Regions from separate parts of the Homo sapiens genome. Here regions 1 and 2 are each linked to region 3. Evidence: promoter capture Hi-C in 16 types of primary human blood cells and fetal thymus (Javierre and others, 2016). All regions are on one chromosome and are shown on one strand. The core of a region is centred on a gene start or on the middle of the fragment in contact, and the rest is flanking DNA. Distances in the headings are between cores, read along the strand shown. Region 1 overlaps SLC41A2 (solute carrier family 41 member 2). Region 2 overlaps SLC41A2 (solute carrier family 41 member 2). Region 3 holds the start of TXNRD1 (thioredoxin reductase 1).

Evidence for each region. The method cuts DNA at HindIII sites, captures the fragments that hold promoters and counts their contacts. A CHiCAGO score of 5 or more calls a contact.
Region 1: a contact is called between a fragment that was not itself captured here and the fragment with the promoter of TXNRD1 in region 3, in 9 of 17 cell types (naive CD4 T cells, activated CD4 T cells, endothelial precursors and 6 more). The highest score is 7.5, in naive CD4 T cells.
Region 2: a contact is called between a fragment that was not itself captured here and the fragment with the promoter of TXNRD1 in region 3, in 13 of 17 cell types (erythroblasts, activated CD4 T cells, M2 macrophages and 10 more). The highest score is 10.0, in erythroblasts.

The regions. Positions count from the first base shown.
Region 1 is chr12:104,867,866-104,871,362 of GRCh38, forward strand. The region is part of intron 6 of SLC41A2 (solute carrier family 41 member 2); the gene reads right to left. Among named protein-coding and RNA genes, the nearest start is that of SLC41A2, 89 kb to the right of the region's middle. The HindIII fragment of the contact is 3,851 bases long and covers 135-3,497 here.
Region 2 is chr12:104,885,311-104,888,440 of GRCh38, forward strand. SLC41A2 (solute carrier family 41 member 2) reads right to left here. Exons shown (of 11, transcript NM_001352171.3): 6 at 983-1,129. Among named protein-coding and RNA genes, the nearest start is that of SLC41A2, 71 kb to the right of the region's middle. The HindIII fragment of the contact is 2,045 bases long and covers 573-2,617 here.
Region 3 is chr12:104,214,309-104,217,540 of GRCh38, forward strand. TXNRD1 (thioredoxin reductase 1) reads left to right here and starts at 1,471. Exons shown (of 17, transcript NM_001093771.3): 1 at 1,471-1,585. The coding sequence starts at 1,495. RefSeq lists enhancers at 1,247-1,863, 1,864-2,479 and a silencer at 1,334-1,423. The HindIII fragment of the contact is 5,942 bases long and covers 1-3,232 here.

The sequences.
Region 1 (3,497 bases), core at 810-3,309, 650 kb after region 3:
TTTAAAGATCTTCTCACCTATGACTAAAGATGCTTGAACTACATACAAATCCCAAATTTTTATTTCTTCCATATCATGTAGGAATAAGCAATTATTATAGATATTAAAATATAGCTAAACAAATTTTACTCCTAAGCTTTTGTATGGATTTGCCATCACATCTTTAAAATAATTATACTAATAAAATTTATTTTTATATTTTCTTCTATTTAAAGGAATATGACTAATGCTACATTGTGTCATTTTCTCCATGATTTTTTAAAAGATGAAAAAAACCTTTTATTTGTTGAATGGATTCACAGTTCTCCTTGTAAGCCAACAGATAAGGATAAATAACATCCCAGTTAGGAAGCATTTCAATCTACTAAAACAACTAAGGTTGCCAATAATTTCTTTAATAGAACGAAATAGAAAACAAAATGCATTGAAAACCACTAAACACAAATGAAAAGAACTATTCTGCTAGGTCAGATCATCTTAGTATTTTATTCTCAGGTCAAGAGAGGAGCACCCTGCTAGACTTTAAAGAAGCTATCCTCAACATTAAATCTCTGGAAGGACATCTGAAGCTGAAAAACGCACCCACCACACCCACCCCAGAATCACTGCCCTGAATTTTCAAAGAGGAGAAAAAATACCTTAGGAAAGAAACTAAAAATAATGAGCAGGCAGTTCCTTAAAAAGTTAAACAGAGTTTAACTTGACCCAGCAATTCTACTCCTTCATGTACACCCAACAGAATGGAAAACATATTTACATAAAAACTTGTACATTACATAAAAACTTGAATGTTCATAGCAGCACTATGCATAATGGCCAAAAAGTAGAAGCAACCTAAATGTTCATCAAATGGTGAATAGATAAACAAAACTTAGTATATCCATAAATGGACTATTACTTGGCCATTTCATTAATCCATACAATTGGATGTTACTCTGCACTTCATATGATTCAAAAATGATGCATGTGACAACGTGATGAACCTTGAAAACATTATGCTAAGTGAAAGATGCCAGACTCAAAAGGTCACATATCAAATGATTACTTTTACATACAAGCCCAGAATAGGCAAATCCGAAGAGAAGGTAGATTGGTGATTGTTAGAGGAGGGGTGGGATGAGGAATAACTGCTAAAGTATTCTGTTTTGTTTACAGATAGGGTCTCACTTTGTCACCAAGGATGGCGTGCAGTGGCATAATCTTGGCTCAGTGCAGCCTCAAATCCCTGGGCTCAAGTGATCCTCCCATCTCAGCCTCCCAAAGTGCTGGGATTACAGGCATGAGCCACCATGTCAGGCCCAGCGTTTCTGTTTGAGGTGATGAAAATGTTCTGGAATTAGATCACGGTGATCCTTGTACAACCTTATGAATATGCCAAAAACCACTGAATTGTATACTTTAAAAAAGTGAATTACATGGCATGTGAATTACATCCAATTTTTAAAAATCCTCACAGAGGGGAAAACAGGAAGGAGGACTACATTCTTCAAAAATGTCTGTCATTAAAGACAAAGGATATACACACGTACATAGACAAAGAGAGAGAACAAAAGATAAAGCAAATGGGGTAAAATGTTAACCTTAGGTGAATCCAGATAAAGAGTATGCAGGGGTTTTTTTTGTACTGTTTTGATTTTTGCAACTATTCTATAAACATATAATTATCTTCAAATAAAAGTTTGTTAAATGTTAAAAAGGTGGGAAAACCATGATAAAACCCAAATTTCCAAATGTTTACTGTAAATGTATTCTACTTCAATTACCTGCCAAATCCAACATGCCCATTCCCACCAAATTAGACCATATGGATAATTCTATAGGACCCTCCTAACTTATTCCTGGCTAACTTCTAATCCAATTTTGATAGGTAGGGAAAATTACAAATATATAAAAAGAGATGCTACAAACATTTCTCTTTTTTGGATATACTGGTGTTTTATAGATGTCATAAAATTAAAGAATTACTTTTAGAAAACCACCAATGACACAATCAACAGAGCAAATAGTCAATTAAAGGCCAACTATGAACTTCCACATTAATATTAAAATGTAAAATCATCTTCCTTCTAAATGAAACACATTTAAAAGATCCTGGTTAAAATAATATTTTGTATTAAAATCTGGGTATATCATAATGGGTATTAGGGTAGGATGAATAAAATCTAGTAATAATTCACAGGACCTGTGAATGCTACCTTATACGGCAAAAGGGGCTTTGTAGAAATGATTAAGTCAAGAATTTTGGGATGGGAATATTATCCTGGATTATTTGTGTGACCCCTAAATATAATTGCAGGTATAGGAGGGAGGCAGGAGCAGATGTGGCTGCAGAAGAGAAGAAAGCAATGTGACCACAGAAACAGAGATTGGAGTCATACAGCTACCAGCCGAGAACACCGGCAGGCAGCTGCCAGAAGATGGAAGAGGCAAGGAACAGATTCTCCCCAAGACCAGAAGGATCCAATCCTGATGACACCTTGATTTTATTCCTATATAACTCATTTTGAATTTATACTTAATTGTAATTGTTCTGGTTTCCAGAACTGTAAAAACAAAACAAACAAAAAAACCCAAAAAACATTTCTATTGTCTTAAGCCACAAGGTTTGTGCTAATTTGTTACAATGGCAATAGATAACTAATACATGCATATTTAAAACTTCTTGGAATTTTAAGCCTAATAAATGTCCATTATACATTAATACTGACTCTGTGATATAGGCAAACTACGGAAAAGTAAAGATTAACACAGCTAAAGTGGTTCAAATCGCTCTGATGCCTCCTAACTGGCAAACATAACTAGCATCTTTTGTGATCCAGTTTTCACATTTTATATTGTTGACGGCATTTCCCAACTGCTGTTATATCATTTCATTAATAGTGTTCATCATTCTCACCCCAAATTCTTCTGAAACATGTAGCTGTTATGATTGACAATTTTTATGTATTAGCTGTTTCTATGTAAACAACAAAGCAATGGGCACTGTAAGTTGTGATTTTTTTCTAAATGCCCCTTAATAATTGATCTAAATTTTCTGAGGGAACTGATACTCTAGAAATCACTCTAACCTAAGATGGTACTGTGCTAAAAATCCCTCAAGCATAGAGACATTCAAGATAAATTTAGATTCTACTCACACCACCACATTAAGGCAGAGATATTCTAGAATGGTCTGTAAATAACCAGGTGGCATCCTTGTTAGTCTCCATAGGAATGCAGTAACCTGAGGCTAATTGCTACTGCTCTTACAGCTTCAGCTAAGCCATCTGTTTAAAGTTAATCTTGAAAAATGAAAAATCAATCAACATTTTGCCTCTCAGATCTCGCCTACAAAGAGAATATCTAATAATTTTTTCAAATCAATAAATATCATGTACACACAAGAATTAGATAGCCATGCAGTTATAAATATGTGAAAAAGAATTTTTTAAATCTTCTTGGAACTTATGCAAACAGAAAGAAAGGAGCAACAATCATGTGAACATATATATATTCCA
Region 2 (3,130 bases), core at 345-2,844, 670 kb after region 3:
TATATGCTAAGTGAAGCTTCCTTGATGTCTCCAAAAGTCACAGAAAATTATTGCCTTTGGTTGGTTAAAGCCCTTTCTTTATTTCAAGAACATATATCTGAGACCCTTACTTCTTAAAACGAAACATGCTTTAGATTTATTTTAAAGTACACCATAAATCTGTATAGAATCCATGAACATATGTGAGGATTTGTGAATAAATGTTTGCCTCTGGCTTGGCTTATATACTCATGTTTTTTTCTTGTATTACTGTAAGTTTCTGTTTTCCTTAATTTGGCATCTAAAAATAATAAAACCACAATGAACTTTTAGCATGTCATCAACACTCACAAATCATATGTATTTACCATTTCCAGAACACAAATTTGCATTAAAACAACTCATTAGATTCCATAAATACTCTATCACTATTTATCAGGAATTACATATATGGCTCCAACTTTATACAGCATTCAGTCTAATTTTTGTGGTGATTTTTTTTTCCCTTTTGTTAACTGCCATGAAGCTACTTATTGGTGTGGGTTTCTGATGGGGAAAAACATTCCATTGGTAAATTTTAAGTACCACTTATAAGCTTATATTCTGAGATGGTTCTATACAGAGAACACTGCAGGTTGACTCCTAGCTGCTGTACACTTACAGGAAAGGACAGAAATCACAAAATATGATAAGCCTGTGTTCAACTTTTTTACTAGTAGTTATATAAACTTGGGTAACATACATAACTTCTATGATCCTTGCTTTTCTCATCTAAAATTAGAGATGATAATCCTTATTTTACAGAGTTTTAAACTCTACGAGAAAAAAGAAAGTGGGAATCATAACACATAGTAGGTATAAAACAAATGATAGTTATCCTAATCAGTCTCAACAGCAGTTCTAATGCAAATGAAGGCTACCATGGATTCATGGCATTGCTGCAACAATATTTATTTAAAGAGACTTGAGACAACACACAATATTTAGTTTTAAATCAACTTACCAAGACAGGAGTATAAGCCCTGACTTATCCAAGCCAATATGGCAAGAGTTATAAGGTCGCCAAAACTAGCAGCAATGGGTGTAGCAACATTATCAGGATTTATACCAGTCTTCTTTGAACCAACGATAACCCCAACCATTATTATTCCTAGAAGAAAGAATGTTCATTACTTTTTAGGCTATGATTTAAAGAAAATCAATCCCCCAAATACCAAAATGTGTAGGATAGAAAAACAGCATATCAATTCCAGTTAGACTGCTTAGATAAGCTGACTAAAGCAAACAAAACATTTACTCTAACGCTTTGGCAAAATGCCTTTCAACAAACTCCAAGTGGGGATCATAGAAAATTTAAGAAGTTCAGCATTGTATTTAGAGGCCTGAAAGCTACTAAAATTATGGTAAAGCTAAAATTTCAGATTTAGTGACATGTATATCTTAGATATAATGTATTTGTGTGTATTGAATCCAAAGGTTTTAATTTTAACCCTCAAATAAAGTATGAAAACATCAAAAAAAAAGGTGAGTCATATGTATATGTACAACAACTGGGAAGAAGGCCAACAAAACCAGATTTGTTTACATATGGCAGCTAGAAATGCTTATTTCATTTTATTACTTAAAGACGTTGAAGTATTAAGCAGCAGGACATAATTAAATTTTAAAACACTGAAGGCCAGAATACAAGAAACAGTCTTTGTAAAAGATATTCTTTAAACCTGAAGTTTCTGTCTATAAACCTACGAGAGAATAGAAGATGAAAATTTAACTGTGTACTTGTACTTTTACATCCTAATTTTCTTAAATTATACAAATGGGATAAAACTATTAACATTTATATCCACTCTAAATTGTGTAGATTTTGTCACACCAAGATACTCATTAAGAGGATGTAGTAAAGAGAAAACTTTAAATGTGCTAACCACAAATCAATATGAAAGCCTAAATATGGCTATGGAGAAAAACAGTAACAGAATCTCACAGCACTTTTAGAGTTAAAATGACTCTAAATGTTTTTGTTCCAGCATACTCACTTTATAGATAATAAAACTGAGGTCCTGTAGAGTAGGGCTTAAATTCTTGCCTAAAGTCACATAGCTTGTGACTCTAGCCCAGTGTTTTTTACTCTACCTATTAAAGCCAAAATTTTAATAAGCAGAATTTTTGTCTTGCATCAAACAGTGCCTTATATTTTAGTATTCTGGAGGCTTTTTAAATTACTAGACTTACCTTTCCCATAATATCATTGAAAAAGAAAAAAAGCTATAGCAGAAAACTTTTTAAAAAAAATACATTATGCAATAATCAGGCAAGATGTAATCGCTTAGAATCTTTTTCCAAAATCAGCACATTTGAAGATGTATATGGGAAGTTCTCCTACACATAGTACCATCTATATCTTTTCAACTGAAAACAAATATTTTGTATGTATCATAGTCCAGTGGAAAGAGCTAAGAGTTAGGAAACGTGTTTTAGTTCTGATTCAGCTGGTAACAAGTTGATGAGATTGGACAAGTCACCTTACCTAAGTTTTCTCACCTACAAATATGGCTAAGAGTTTCTACTTTACATATACTAAAGTGCTTATAAAGGTCAAGTTATCATAAAATTAGAACACACATTATTCAAAGTCAGAAGCTTTAAACAAATACTTTTTAAAATTCTGAATTTTGGATAGTTTTGAAAAGCTTTCAAATACTTGTTAGACTGAAAAATTTTAAATGACACTTTCTAAATGAAATAAAATCAGAAAGAAAAAAGAAGCAAATGAGCCTAAAAAAATAGCATGCTGATGGCATAATTATTTTTGTACCAACAATTTAATTTTCCAATAGCTTAACTTCACTCTGCTTTGGTCAATGTTAACTCCATTCAACTATAGTAATTCTTTATGAAGACAAGAAACTACCCCGATACAATTAAACTACTAAAACAAAATGCTTGAAAATATTTTGGAAATCGAGTTATAATTTTAATAAGATTCCCTAAATTCCCAGAACCTAGCCAAAAAAGTTAGCTGCATTGTATGATCACCTAACATGACAATAATCCACTTTAAACTTTGCTGGTGATATAAGGGCAAGAAAATGGCAATTATAAAATAAAAAGAACAAAGTCTTTATGATTGTGATTCCACAATAAGCTAATT
Region 3 (3,232 bases), core at 221-2,720:
TGGTGTTAAAAAAAATCACTCTCATTCATTACTAGTAGGAGTTCAAATGGGAACCACAGTTCCAAAAAAGCAATTTTGGCAACGTGTAATGACAGCCTTAAAACTATAAACACAAAGATGTTCCCTGCAGCCTTATTCATAATTTTTAAAAATAAAAAACAAACTAAACATCTAATAATAGGCTATGTAATCGTCCAGTAGCTCTAGTGGATGGACTATTACATTATTATAATTATTCAAATTAATATTTTCCCGCTTCTTCCCTGCTTTCCTTCAAGAGGTGGGGGAGGCCACCTGGCCCAAGCTGAAGGCCAAGATACAAGAAAAAAATGCAAAGGTTCTATTTTGGCAGCGTTTACATGGGCAGGGTGTCGTGGGGAGGCTGGCGGAGGGAGTGGGAGCAGGTGACAGAGAATATAGGGTAAGTTAGAAGGCTCTCAGTGCTGGTAAAAATAAAATAGAGTAAAGTAAAGGGTGGGGGTAGAGTTGAGGGGGGCGTGATCAGATTTCTGTTCAAATAGGATGGTCTTTTTGCTGTGAACTTAAGACTGCTCTAAGGCCAGGCGCAGTGGCTGACGCCTGTAATCCCAGCACTTTGGGAGGCCGAGGCGGGCGGATCACAAGGTCAGGAGATCGAGACCATCCTGCCTAACACGGTGAAACCCCGTCTCTACTAAAAATACAAAAAATTAGCTGGGCATGGTGGCACACGCCTGTAGTCCCAGCTACTCGGGAGGCTGAGGCAGGAGAATCGCTTGAACTTGGGAGGCAGAGGTTGCAGTGGGCTGAGATCGCGCCACTGCACTCCAGCCTGGGTGACAGAGTGAGACTCCGTCTCAAAAAAAAAAAAAAAAAAAGACTGCTCTAAAAAATAAAGTGTATTAAAAAGAAACTACGATGTTCAGTGTATGCTTCATCTACGGTCAAAGAGGCAAAGACTGAAGTGACAGTGGAAGCCAGGTGGTTATCTGGGAGGCTTACAAGACTATGTGATAGTATGGAAAATACTAGTATTAAGTGAAATGCTGGATGCAAAACTATGCATAGAGGGGAAAAACTGGAAAGAAATAGTAAACACAGCAAAAGTAGTTTGTGTGAAGGATAAATTTTTTAAAATTATTTTTTGTAGAAACAGGGTTTCTCTACATTGCCCAGGATGGTCTCAAACTCCTGGGCTCAAGCGATCAATCCTCCCACCTCGGCCTCCCAAAGTGCACAGGTGTAAGCCACCGCGCCCAGCCGAAGGATAAGGATTTTGGGTGGTGCGCTCTTTTCTCCTTTCCATTTCTGCATTTTCCAATTTACCTTTAGCGACCGTTCTTTCCTGTTAAAAAAAAAAAATTCACGACCTTGAAGAAGATACACGGGCTATGACTTCGCTGTTGTCACCGAGCGCCCCGCCCACCGCGTTCTCCGACCCGCGGCCGGCAGGGGGCTCGCGGCCTCCGCCAGGCGTCCTTCGGCTCCGTCAGTTCCCACAGGGCCTTGTGCGACATGGGCTGCGCCGAGGGCAAGGCAGTGGCGGCGGCCGCCCCAACGGAGCTGCAGACGAAAGGCAAGAACGGCGATGGCCGCCGTAGGTCAGGTACGACCGAGGGCGAAGGCCTGGTCCCCAGGTCGACGGGCCGAAGCGGGCCTTCCGGCCGGGGTTGGGGATAAAGTGCCCCGGAGCCCTGGCCTTGAAGCCCCTCACTGGAGTCAGTGACTGACCGCGCGCCACGCTGGAGACCCCAGAAACGCTCCCCCAGGTCACCCCGGGAGACGGAGGCCGGCGGCCGGCCGAGGGCTGCCCCGCCCGCTGGCTGTGAGAGAGGTGGGAGGTGGAAGGAGGAGCGGGCCCGCCGCGAGGACCTGCCCGGAAACCTGTCGGAAACCGAACCGAGATCTCGGCAGCGACCCGCCTGATTTCGCTCAGGGCCCGTTAGGGCGTCCTCTTCCTACAAGCACCGTGTTTCCAATGAAAGGTTACGGGGGAAGCGACCAAACCGACAGCCGAGTCCGGGGGTGCCCCTTCACCTCTCCAGAAGCCCCCGGCCCACTCCCAGCATCCTCCTCCATCGAGAATCTTGTCCGACACGCCTTCCCGGCCCCCTTTCTCCATCCCCTTGAATTTTGGGCACATTTCTCCCACCATCATCCCGCTTTATCCTTTCACTTGTTCTTCCAGAAGAGAAAGCTCCCAGTCTCTTCTCCATTGTCCGGATAATGCCAATAATGGCTAGTGGTTACTAAGCACTGACATGAGAGGGGCCTTTGGAAGCACTAGACATGGGTAATAATCTTGGTTCATGTTTCCAGCCATACTGAGAGATTTATCATAAACCCCATTATACAGATGAAGAAACTGAGAAGCAAAGAGGTTATAAAACTTACCCAAAGCACACAACTAGTAAGTGGAAGAGCTGGGATACCAGTTGAGGCCATCTGACTCAAAAGCCCTGGTCATAGTCATATGGCCGCCTCCACCTTTTTTATAGGCTTGAGAAAGTGAGGCTCCAAAAAGTGCCTTGCCCAATGGCTAGAATTATTAAATGCTGTAGGATCTGCCTCTTTCAAAGGCTTACAGTTTAGTTACAAGGCAGCATATGGTGAAGGGCTAAAAGGAGTGGTAAAAACAGCCAAGTGGGGATGGCAGCTCCCATAGATGAGGTAGGATTTGGTAGAGGTGTCTGAAGGGAGAACATTCTTGTTAGGGGAAGCAGCCGGTGAGACCATGCTAGAGATAGGGAGGCCTGTATATCCTGCTGGAGTTAAGGACTTGGATTAGGGGAAGGGAAGAATAAAGGAACAGGGTAGGAGCAAGGTCAGGCAAGGTCCAGGTCAGGCAGCTAATTTGTGGCCATTAGTACAATGAAGGAGTTTGAGCAGGTGCATCCCAAATTGACGTTTCATGTGCCATCCTCAGGATCTTCTTGATATCTATGTCCTTCCATTTATTTACTGTTTTTCTTTAGCTACATTCTTTTTGTGTGTGGTTAAAAAAAAAAAATTTACCATCTTAACAATTTTGTTTTTTTTTTTTTTTTAGTTTCGCTCTCGTTGCCCAGGCTGGGGTGCAATGGCGCCATCTTGGCTCACCTCAGCCTCCACCTCCCAGGTTGAAGCGATTCTCCTGCCTCAGCCTCCCAAGTAGCTGGGATTACAGGCATGCACCACCACGCCTGGCTAATTTTGTATTTTTAATAGAGACAGGTTTTCACCATGTTGGTCAGGCTGGTCTTGAACTCCTGAC